3 separate regions of the Homo sapiens genome follow, and regions 1 and 3 are each linked to region 2. Evidence: promoter capture Hi-C in 16 types of primary human blood cells and fetal thymus (Javierre and others, 2016). All regions are on one chromosome and are shown on one strand. Each heading gives the region's core, a stretch centred on a gene start or on the middle of the fragment in contact. The rest is flanking DNA. Distances are from core to core; before and after follow the strand shown.

The links. Contacts are between HindIII fragments. The CHiCAGO score rates a contact against its expected background, and 5 or more counts as called.
Region 1: a contact is called between a fragment that was not itself captured here and the fragment with the promoter of PAX7 in region 2, in 1 of 17 cell types (naive CD4 T cells). The highest score is 5.3, in naive CD4 T cells.
Region 3: a contact is called between a fragment that was not itself captured here and the fragment with the promoter of PAX7 in region 2, in 1 of 17 cell types (endothelial precursors). The highest score is 7.2, in endothelial precursors.

What each region holds. Positions count from the first base shown.
Region 1 is chr1:18,810,799-18,813,498 of GRCh38, reverse strand. No RefSeq gene overlaps it. Among named protein-coding and RNA genes, the nearest start is that of TAS1R2, 48 kb to the left of the region's middle. The HindIII fragment of the contact is 1,258 bases long and covers 762-2,019 here.
Region 2 is chr1:18,629,582-18,632,281 of GRCh38, reverse strand. PAX7 (paired box 7) reads right to left here and starts at 1,436. Exons shown (of 9, transcript NM_001135254.2): 1 at 594-1,436. The coding sequence starts at 678. RefSeq lists enhancers at 1-105, 1-113 and promoters at 653-929, 653-1,563, 967-1,752. The HindIII fragment of the contact is 4,552 bases long and covers 1-2,700 here.
Region 3 is chr1:18,834,870-18,837,569 of GRCh38, reverse strand. No RefSeq gene overlaps it. Among named protein-coding and RNA genes, the nearest start is that of TAS1R2, 23 kb to the left of the region's middle. The HindIII fragment of the contact is 1,055 bases long and covers 800-1,854 here.

The DNA.
Region 1 (2,700 bases), core at 141-2,640, 180 kb before region 2:
CTGAATGCAGGCTAGGAATTGTGAACTCTTCACAGACCCAGTGGCTCCTGCTGGCGATACAGGAGTCATCCTTAATTCCTCCCATCCTCCTTCACGTCTCCCAAATCTTGACTCTGTCTCCATGGGTACCATGTTGAAACTGGCTGCTTTCTTGTCTGTTTTGAGACAGAGTCTCTTTCCATCACCCAGACTGGAGTGCAGTGGCGCTATCATGGCTCATTGCAGCCTTGACCTCCTGGGCTCAAGCAATCCTCCACCTCAGCTTCCTAAGTAACTGGTACCACTGGCGTGGGCCATCATGATTGGCTGATTTTTGTATTTTTTGTAGAGACAGGGTTTCACCATATTGCCCAGGCTGGTCTTGAACTCCTGGGCTCAAGGGATCCTCCCACTTCGGCCTCCCAAAGTGCTGGGATTACAGGTGTGAGCCACCGCGCCCGGCCTGGCTGCAATCTTTTCTTGCTCGGATACCTACGGCCTCTTTGCTTGTTTCTGCCTCCATCCTTGCTCCCGCCCCAACCCAGGCAATTCATTCTTCCCAAAGCAGCCAGGGACACTTCCACTAGTGGGAATCAGATCGTGTCACTCACCTCCAATTTTAGAAGAAACTGTAGGCTTTTCAGTCAGCCCATAGGCCCCCACGCAGCCCTGTCTCCCTCTGCTCTGATCTCATCTCCCACAACTCTCGTCATTATTCTTGTCACCCTCTTGTTGTGTCAGACACAAATGCCCTCCTTCCTTTTTCTTGAACCCGCCAAGCTTGTTCCCACCCCAGGGCCTTTGCATGTGCTCTTTCTTCTGCTTGGATTGTTCTTCCCCACATTTATGCACTGCTGTCTCCCTGTCGATTCAGCCTGGCCTTTGCTGACATTGATCTCCAATTACATCACTGGGCTGGACTGTCTTCATAGTGCTTAGCAACATCTGAAATCATCTCACTTGCTTCTTTGCTTTTGAGTTTATGATCCGTCTCCCTGACCTAAAATATAAACATTCTGAGAGCGAAGACTTCATCTGTTCTGTTTACTCCTGTAACCCCTGTTCCTAGTACAACGTCAGCACATCATAGGTGCTCAATAAGCTAGTGATTGACTGACTGACTACATGACCAAGATCGCCTTGAGTTCAAAGGTGACATTTCCTCTCTAGCCACCTGCCTGTCTGCCTGACACTCCCAGGCTGGGACCCCACCCCTGCTGTTGTCAGTGAGCCAAGGACACTTTGGGCCTAATCCCTGAAACACTGAGACTCATGTTTCTTCCTGCAATACTCAAAGCATGAACTTCTTGCTACGTGCCATGTGGCCTACTAGGCCCAGGGCAAAAAAAAGTGCACAAAAATAAGATTCTGCCTTCAGGGTGCTTAAAGTGCAGAGCATAAGAGAAGAGACATTGACAATGGTCTAATGCAAGCCAGGCAGCACCTACTATGTGGGAGGTGCTTTGCAAACATCATCCCATCGAGTCCTCATTGAATTAATAGCAGTTGGAGAGAGGATGAGATGAATTATCAAAAAAACCCATTTTACAGATGGGGAAGTTGAGGAATGCAAGGACAGTGCATCGCCTAAGGGTAACCCAGCTGGCACATGGCAGAGCTGGATTCATATCCAGGTCTGTCTGGCTCCAAAATCTATGCCTAAGAGAAAGCAGGAGGTCACATGTGATTGGGATGGGGGAGGACACAATTGAGGGCCAGGGGAAATGGAGTGAGGAGAGAATTTCCGACAGGGGGTCTGGTGTGAGCTGGGGAAGGCGGTAGGAAAGAGCAACTGGCTGTGGAATCGGGGAGTGGCTTAGTTTTCCTGGGGACATGGGATGACAGGAGGAGAAGGGAGAAAGATGAAGGAGGAAGGTGAGCTGGATTAGACCATGGTGTGCCCACAAAGCCAGACCCTTGGCGTTTGTCTCACTATCATGGTGACAGTGTGGGTAATAAAGGGAAACTGGGGTTCAATCTGGACCCTAGGACATTTCCCAGGAAGTCAGTCCAGAGGGAGAGAGACTCGGGGAGGAAGCTTCTCTAAGCTCAGCTCCATGCCAATTGTCGAGGAGGAAAGGAGAGGTCAACTAGAAAACCATGTGAACTGGAGAGAATTTGAGACTTCAGTTTGCAGGGCTGTGAGGCAGTAACCCCATTGCCTTGAACGAGAAGCAGTAGGAGCTCCGAGTTTTTGGAGTCACTGGACTTGGGTTTGAGTTCCACTTCTGCCATTTCCAGGCTGTGAAGATGATCTTTGTGTGCCAGCTCACTCTCTGCGTCTGGTTTCTTTGTTGATGGAATAGGAATTCCCATTGTTATAAGGACTAAAGGACTTGATATATGTGACATACCCAGAATAATGTGCGACACAGGGTTTTTGCTCAGGCAGGGACGATGGGGAACTCTGTAGCCTGAACGTTTATTTTAAGAGAGGCTAGAAATGCGAATTTTAATGCAAATTTCCCACAGCTATGGTGCAAGAACCCTCACTCTTCAAATAAAATGGCCGTGGGCCCAGAGCTGGCCAGTGTGGACCCTTGTCTACAGAACACCTGGCTGAAGAGATTTGGGACTTTCTGAGGTTGCGGCAGGGGGAGATAGATCAGTCCAGGGTATTTGAGGCAGTGCATTGGTAGCTGACAAGTTAATGAGGAAGAAAAGCTCTGTTGACCTGGTCAAGGTCACAGTCAGGGCAAATCACTGGCATTAGACTGGGAT
Region 2 (2,700 bases), core at 187-2,686:
AGTAAAAAGTTTTAGGGGGAAAATCATTACTAATTATTATTTCCAATTAGTTTGTTTCCAGGCGGAAAAGCAGGAGTGTTTGACTGTGGCTTCGGAAGAAATGGATAGCCGTGGTAGTTGAGGCATATAAAGTATCACCCATGGTAGGTGGTTCGAAATAAAGGACTGGAAGACCAATCCCGGGGGTGGAAAAAATAATTCAAAACAAGAGTAGAAAGCTGGCAGCCAGCGAGCCAGGAGAGCCGAGAAACTGTCAGGGAAGAAGTGTCTGGAAATAGTGGAAAGAGCTGAAATTCACCAGGACCTGATATTTACTAGGAGTCCAAATCTACCAGAATTTCAGCCCTGCGGGTAAAGACCGGCAGCTAGCGACCTGCGAAACGAAGGCCGCCGGGCAGTGAAACCCACGCAGAAGCGGACAAGTATGGGTCCCAGAAACTCCCTGGGTTCCGCGCCCGGACTGGGACCCAGAAGAGAACGGGATCCCTCTGCTATCGCCGGCGCCGCCACCGTCCCCTGGAGACCGCAGCCTCTCCAAGGACCCCGAGTTCCGGGCGGCGGAGTCGCGGCGAGGCCAGCCTGGGCGTTCTTACCTTCCAAAGGGAATCCCGTGCGGGGGTAGTTCTGCCCCGGAGCCGGCCGCATCATTCTCGGTACCGTGCCGGGAAGGGCCGCCATTCTTGCGCACGCCGGGGACGAATCCAAAGTCGGCAAAAATCGCTTCCCGTCCGCTCCCTTCACCCCTGCTGCGATCTCTTTCTTTCCGTCTTCTTCGTCTTCTTTTTTTTAACCTCTTCTCCCTCCCCTCCACACACACTCCCTACCCCCACCCCCCACCCCTGGCTGCAGTCAAACGCGTCCAGAAGCTGGGGAGGGGGGTGAGGTGGGGTGGAGGTTGGGGGGAGGGAAGGTGGCGACGACGAGGAAGTTCAAACAAACAAACACTCCAACCCCAAGTCCGCCTCTGCCGGCTGGCCTCGGCCAGAAGTTGTGCGGGCTGATGCGCCTGGCAGAACCCGGAGACCAGGCCCCGCGGCGGAGGGGGGCCGGGGGAACGCGGCCGGAATCGAGGCCGCCAGCCTCAGAGTGGCGAGCGCCGCGCTCTCGCGCTCTGGCGCTCTGGCGCTCGGGGCCAAAGTTTCCGAGCCCGGAGACTGCGGAGTGGATTTCGTTCTCGTATTTATTTATATATTTATTCTCTCGCTCTCGCTCCCTCCCTCTTCTCCACGCCTTCTTTCTCCGGACCACACTCGCTTCTCCCTCCACACCAGCTTTCACAGCCCCGTCCCCTAGGAGACCCGGGGACAGACGGAAGAAGGAGCCTCCTCGGGTTTCAGGGCTGGACGGAGGAGACAGGGGGTGACGGGGTTGGGGAAAGAGAAATGGAAAAGCGAGGGGGCGCGAGTGATCAGCTGGGTAAGTTGTGCAAAAGTGTTCACCGAAGTACGAGGAGGAGGAGGAGGAGGAGGAGGAGGAGGCAGTGAGCGCGATCTGATAGGTTCGGACTTTTCTTTTATTCATGAGGAGGGAAGGGGGCCAGGGCGCAAGGGAGCGGAGGACCAATAACGAAAAGAAATCGCCAACGAATATTTTTTTCCCTCTTTTCTAATCCCCGGCTCGACCTCGTTTTGGGGGAGAATTTGAACCGCCGTGAAAAGAGAGGGAGCCGATCCCGGCGAGTTGGGGGCTGGGGGAGAAGGGGAGGGGGCCAACTTTGTCCCAGTGCCTTCCTTTGATGAATGGGCCGGATCCGCCGAGTCCCCGGCCCCCAGGTCGCCCACGGCTGCTCTCGGAGTCCCGGCTGTATGGGAATGTCTGCCTCGGGTCCGGCGCCTCTCTGGAGTCTCGCCTTTTCTCTGGCCTCCGAGGGCCAGAGTCCGCCCTATTTCTCATCTTCTCCCTCGTCTTACACCCTCTGAAATTCCTCCAGTGAGGCTCCCCGGGAACCGGCCTAGGGTGACTTGAAGGGAGGAATTCTGACCTTTTCTGTGTAATGTCAGAGCCCCGGTGTCCGGTTCTTACTCTACCTTCCTGCCGCTCTGAGAAGCCCCCAGTAACCGTATCTGGTTCCGAGGCTTGGCAAAGTGGGTCTGCCAAGTGCTAGGCACAGGTTTCTTCCTCCCCTTCCAGTTCCGCCCCGTGCAGACGTCTCCAGCCGCCGCCGTCCTCCTCAGGCCCCCAGGCCGGGCCTATAACTCCTTTCCAGCAGGTAGTTGGGTTTACAGGGAGTTGGTGCTGGTGTGAGGATCTGGGGGCCCAAAGAGGTGGGAAATGGGAGGGAGGGAGCCCGTCAAGACTTGATACAGCTCTGAACTCACCAACTCTGAGCTCCTTGCTGGTGGGTTTGAGGGGACGCCCCAACTGAATGATCAGGAGTCAGGGTGGGGTGATCAGAGGTTCCTGAATTCTTCGCTTTCTGAAGCCAGGGTGACCAGTAGCCTCAACCTCGGGACACCGAGTCCTGGGGGCGAAACGCCCTCCCAGCGGGGCAGGACGCCACAACTGCAGGCCTTTTGTCTCCCGGGGGAAAGAGCGTCTCTGGCCCCACGCTGGAGGCAAAATACAATAAAATGAACCCAGCCCTCAATCTCACCCCCTGCCCGCCCTCTCTCGGCAGTGGGGTCAGCCTTGTCTTAGCCTGGGGCGCTCACCGCTGGCTGGCCCCAGGGTGTCCCCATCCCTCCCCTTCGCCTCACCTGT
Region 3 (2,700 bases), core at 78-2,577, 210 kb before region 2:
GAGCCTCACCGAGGACAACTGTAGTTGTCAAAAAATTCTTAGATTCAATCAAAACCCTACTCCCTGGGATTTCAGTTTATGGACACTAGTTTTATCCTTTGGGACCATGAATTAAATCTAATTCCTAGCCTAAGCATGGTAGCTCACACCTGTAATCTCAGCACTTTGGGAGGCCAACGTGGGAAGATTGCTTGAGGCCAGGAGTTTGAGATCAACCTGGGCAATGTAGCAAGACCCCATCTCTACAGAAGTAAAAATTAGCTGGGCATGGTGGTGCACGCTTGTAGTCCCAGCTACTCAAGAAGCTGAGGCAGGAGGATCTGTTGAGTGCAGGAGTTCAAGGCTACAGTGAGCAGTGATTGTGCCACTGCATTGCAGCCTGGGCGACAGAGCAAGATCTTGTCTCACCCTTCCCCACAAAATCGAATTCCTCTTTCTCATGATGCCTTTTATATACAATAACAAAAAGAATTGCCTTTCAAGGAGCACCTGCTGTGTGCCAGGTACTTTTCACACATCATCTCCAGTCCCCAGAATGACCATGCCCCATGGGTACCAGTGACGTTGGTGGACACAGGCTGATGCCTCCCACACCCCTTCCCTCCGCCCTACCTGGCAGCCCCTATATGGTTCCAGGGAAGATGAGGCCATCTCCTGGCTCCAGGGGCTGCAGCAAGTGACCTAGGCCAAGCCAATCGGCACTGTTCTTCCCAGTCTGCAGTGATTGGCTCAGAGGTGGGCACATGACCTTGGTTGGTCCAATCAGAGAGACTCTCAGAACTTTTGCTGGAACCAAGCTTCTTTGTATAATAACTTGAAAGGCCCTAGAGCAAAGAGCTGGGGGCAGTTCTTGTGGGATCACGAGGCGAGTCAGCCTCAGGGGAAAGCTGAACCTTATAGAAGGCAAAGAGGAAGGATAGAAAAACTCAGCCCTTAAAACTCTTTGTGAGCTATTGGATCTCACCTGACGGCAGCCCTGCCTCTGAAAACTTCCATTTCATGAGTCGGTTAATATCCCTTATTGCTTAAGTTAACTTGAGTTGGATTTTCTGTCCTCTGCAACCCAAAGCATCCCTGTACTACTGTAAAGGAAACTGAAGCTCAGAGACGCTGATTAACTTGCCCAGGGTCACCCAGCTCTTAAGTGAGCGAGCTAGGATTTGGGCTCAAAGGGGGGATTTGGGAGGGGTTACAGCAATTGTGTTCTCCTCACGTCATCTCTTCTTTGGTCTGAAGGTCCCAGGTGCTCTTAGGACATGATTTTGGCCACCATCCCGGTCCTTTCCTTTGGACACTCTGATTTGCAAGCCCCTCTCTTCGACCACTTTTCGAGCTTTCCTTTCTTTGGTTCCTGTCATCCTTCCCAAATCCACAGTCTCTGGCCGCCTGAGTCATGTCCCCTAAACCTGACACAGTCAGGAGCCCTCCTGCCTCAGGAACCTCCTGTGGCTCCCCAGTGCCTGGGCAGTAAGTCCTCATTAACGTTGTTGCTACATTCTTGGAAACTCTGACTTTAGATAAAAGGACAAGGCATATAATGAAACCAATATTTTGTTCTCATCCGTATTATAATATGTTATAATGAAACAACGTTATTTGAGGACCCGCTGTACGTCCTTTTGCTTAAAGTCGCAGTTTCCAAAAACCTATCCACTACAGCATTAAGTGAGGACTTCCTGGACAGTCATGCCTGACCTCCTTTGTGTGTGGAAAGCCTCACAAAATCTGAATCCTGCTCATCTTCCCAGCCTCATCTCCCAGTGGCCCCACTGGACTCCTGGCTGTCCCCAAACATGGTTCCTGATTTCACACCTTTGCTCAAGATGTTCCTTCTTGATCTTCCTATGGGAAGCTTGTATTTATCCTTCAGGGCCCGGGTCAAATGCCTCCTCCCCCGGGAAGCCTTTCCTGCCTTGTGGCAGAGGGGATTCTCTGCTCCCATAGCCTCTTGAGCTTCATACCGTTGGTCCTAACGCTTGGGACCTGGCTGCTGTCTTTCTGGTCTGGGACTTCCTGCAGGAGAGGTTCAGCTCTGTTCTCTGTGCAGCTCTTTTCTCACCTGTTGTGGTCACCTACGGCCCATTGCTGCTTGAAGCCTTGAGCACTTGTTGGCTGGGCAGGGCAATCCCTGGAGCCATTTGCAGGGCTGGCACTGGACCTGGTGGGAGTGTCCTTTGTGGGGAGTTGGCTGCAATCGGGCGACCTGGCTCCAGACCAGGTGAAATGGGCCAGAATTTCCTCCAGTGGCTGGGGCTGCAGAGGGGGAAGGAAAGGGTGACAAGGGGAAGGCAGAGGCTGGAGCTGAGCCTCATAGGTAAGGAGGAAGGTGTGGTCGGGTCTCACAGGTGGCATCTCCATCACTCAGACCAGAAACCTGAGTCATCCTTGACTCTGTTTTTCTCCCATCCCGCACCTTATGGTAAGGACCCCCTCTTGGCCAAGGGGACCAGAGAAACCTTAAAAACAGAGTCCTAGGTCATGAAGAGAAGGGAAGTCAGATATGCCTTGTTATGTCCCTTCCATTTTGGGGTTTAGGCACAACTAACCAGCATTCATGGTAAAATCGAGATCATAAGACAGACATAATAGGCTCTTTGTGGCAATAAGATACCAAGTTATAAGCAAGACCGAAAGCCATGGCAAGGAAGGGTTAAGTCAACCTGCAGGCCATTGATCTTGCTAAACAGGCCATAGCGTGAC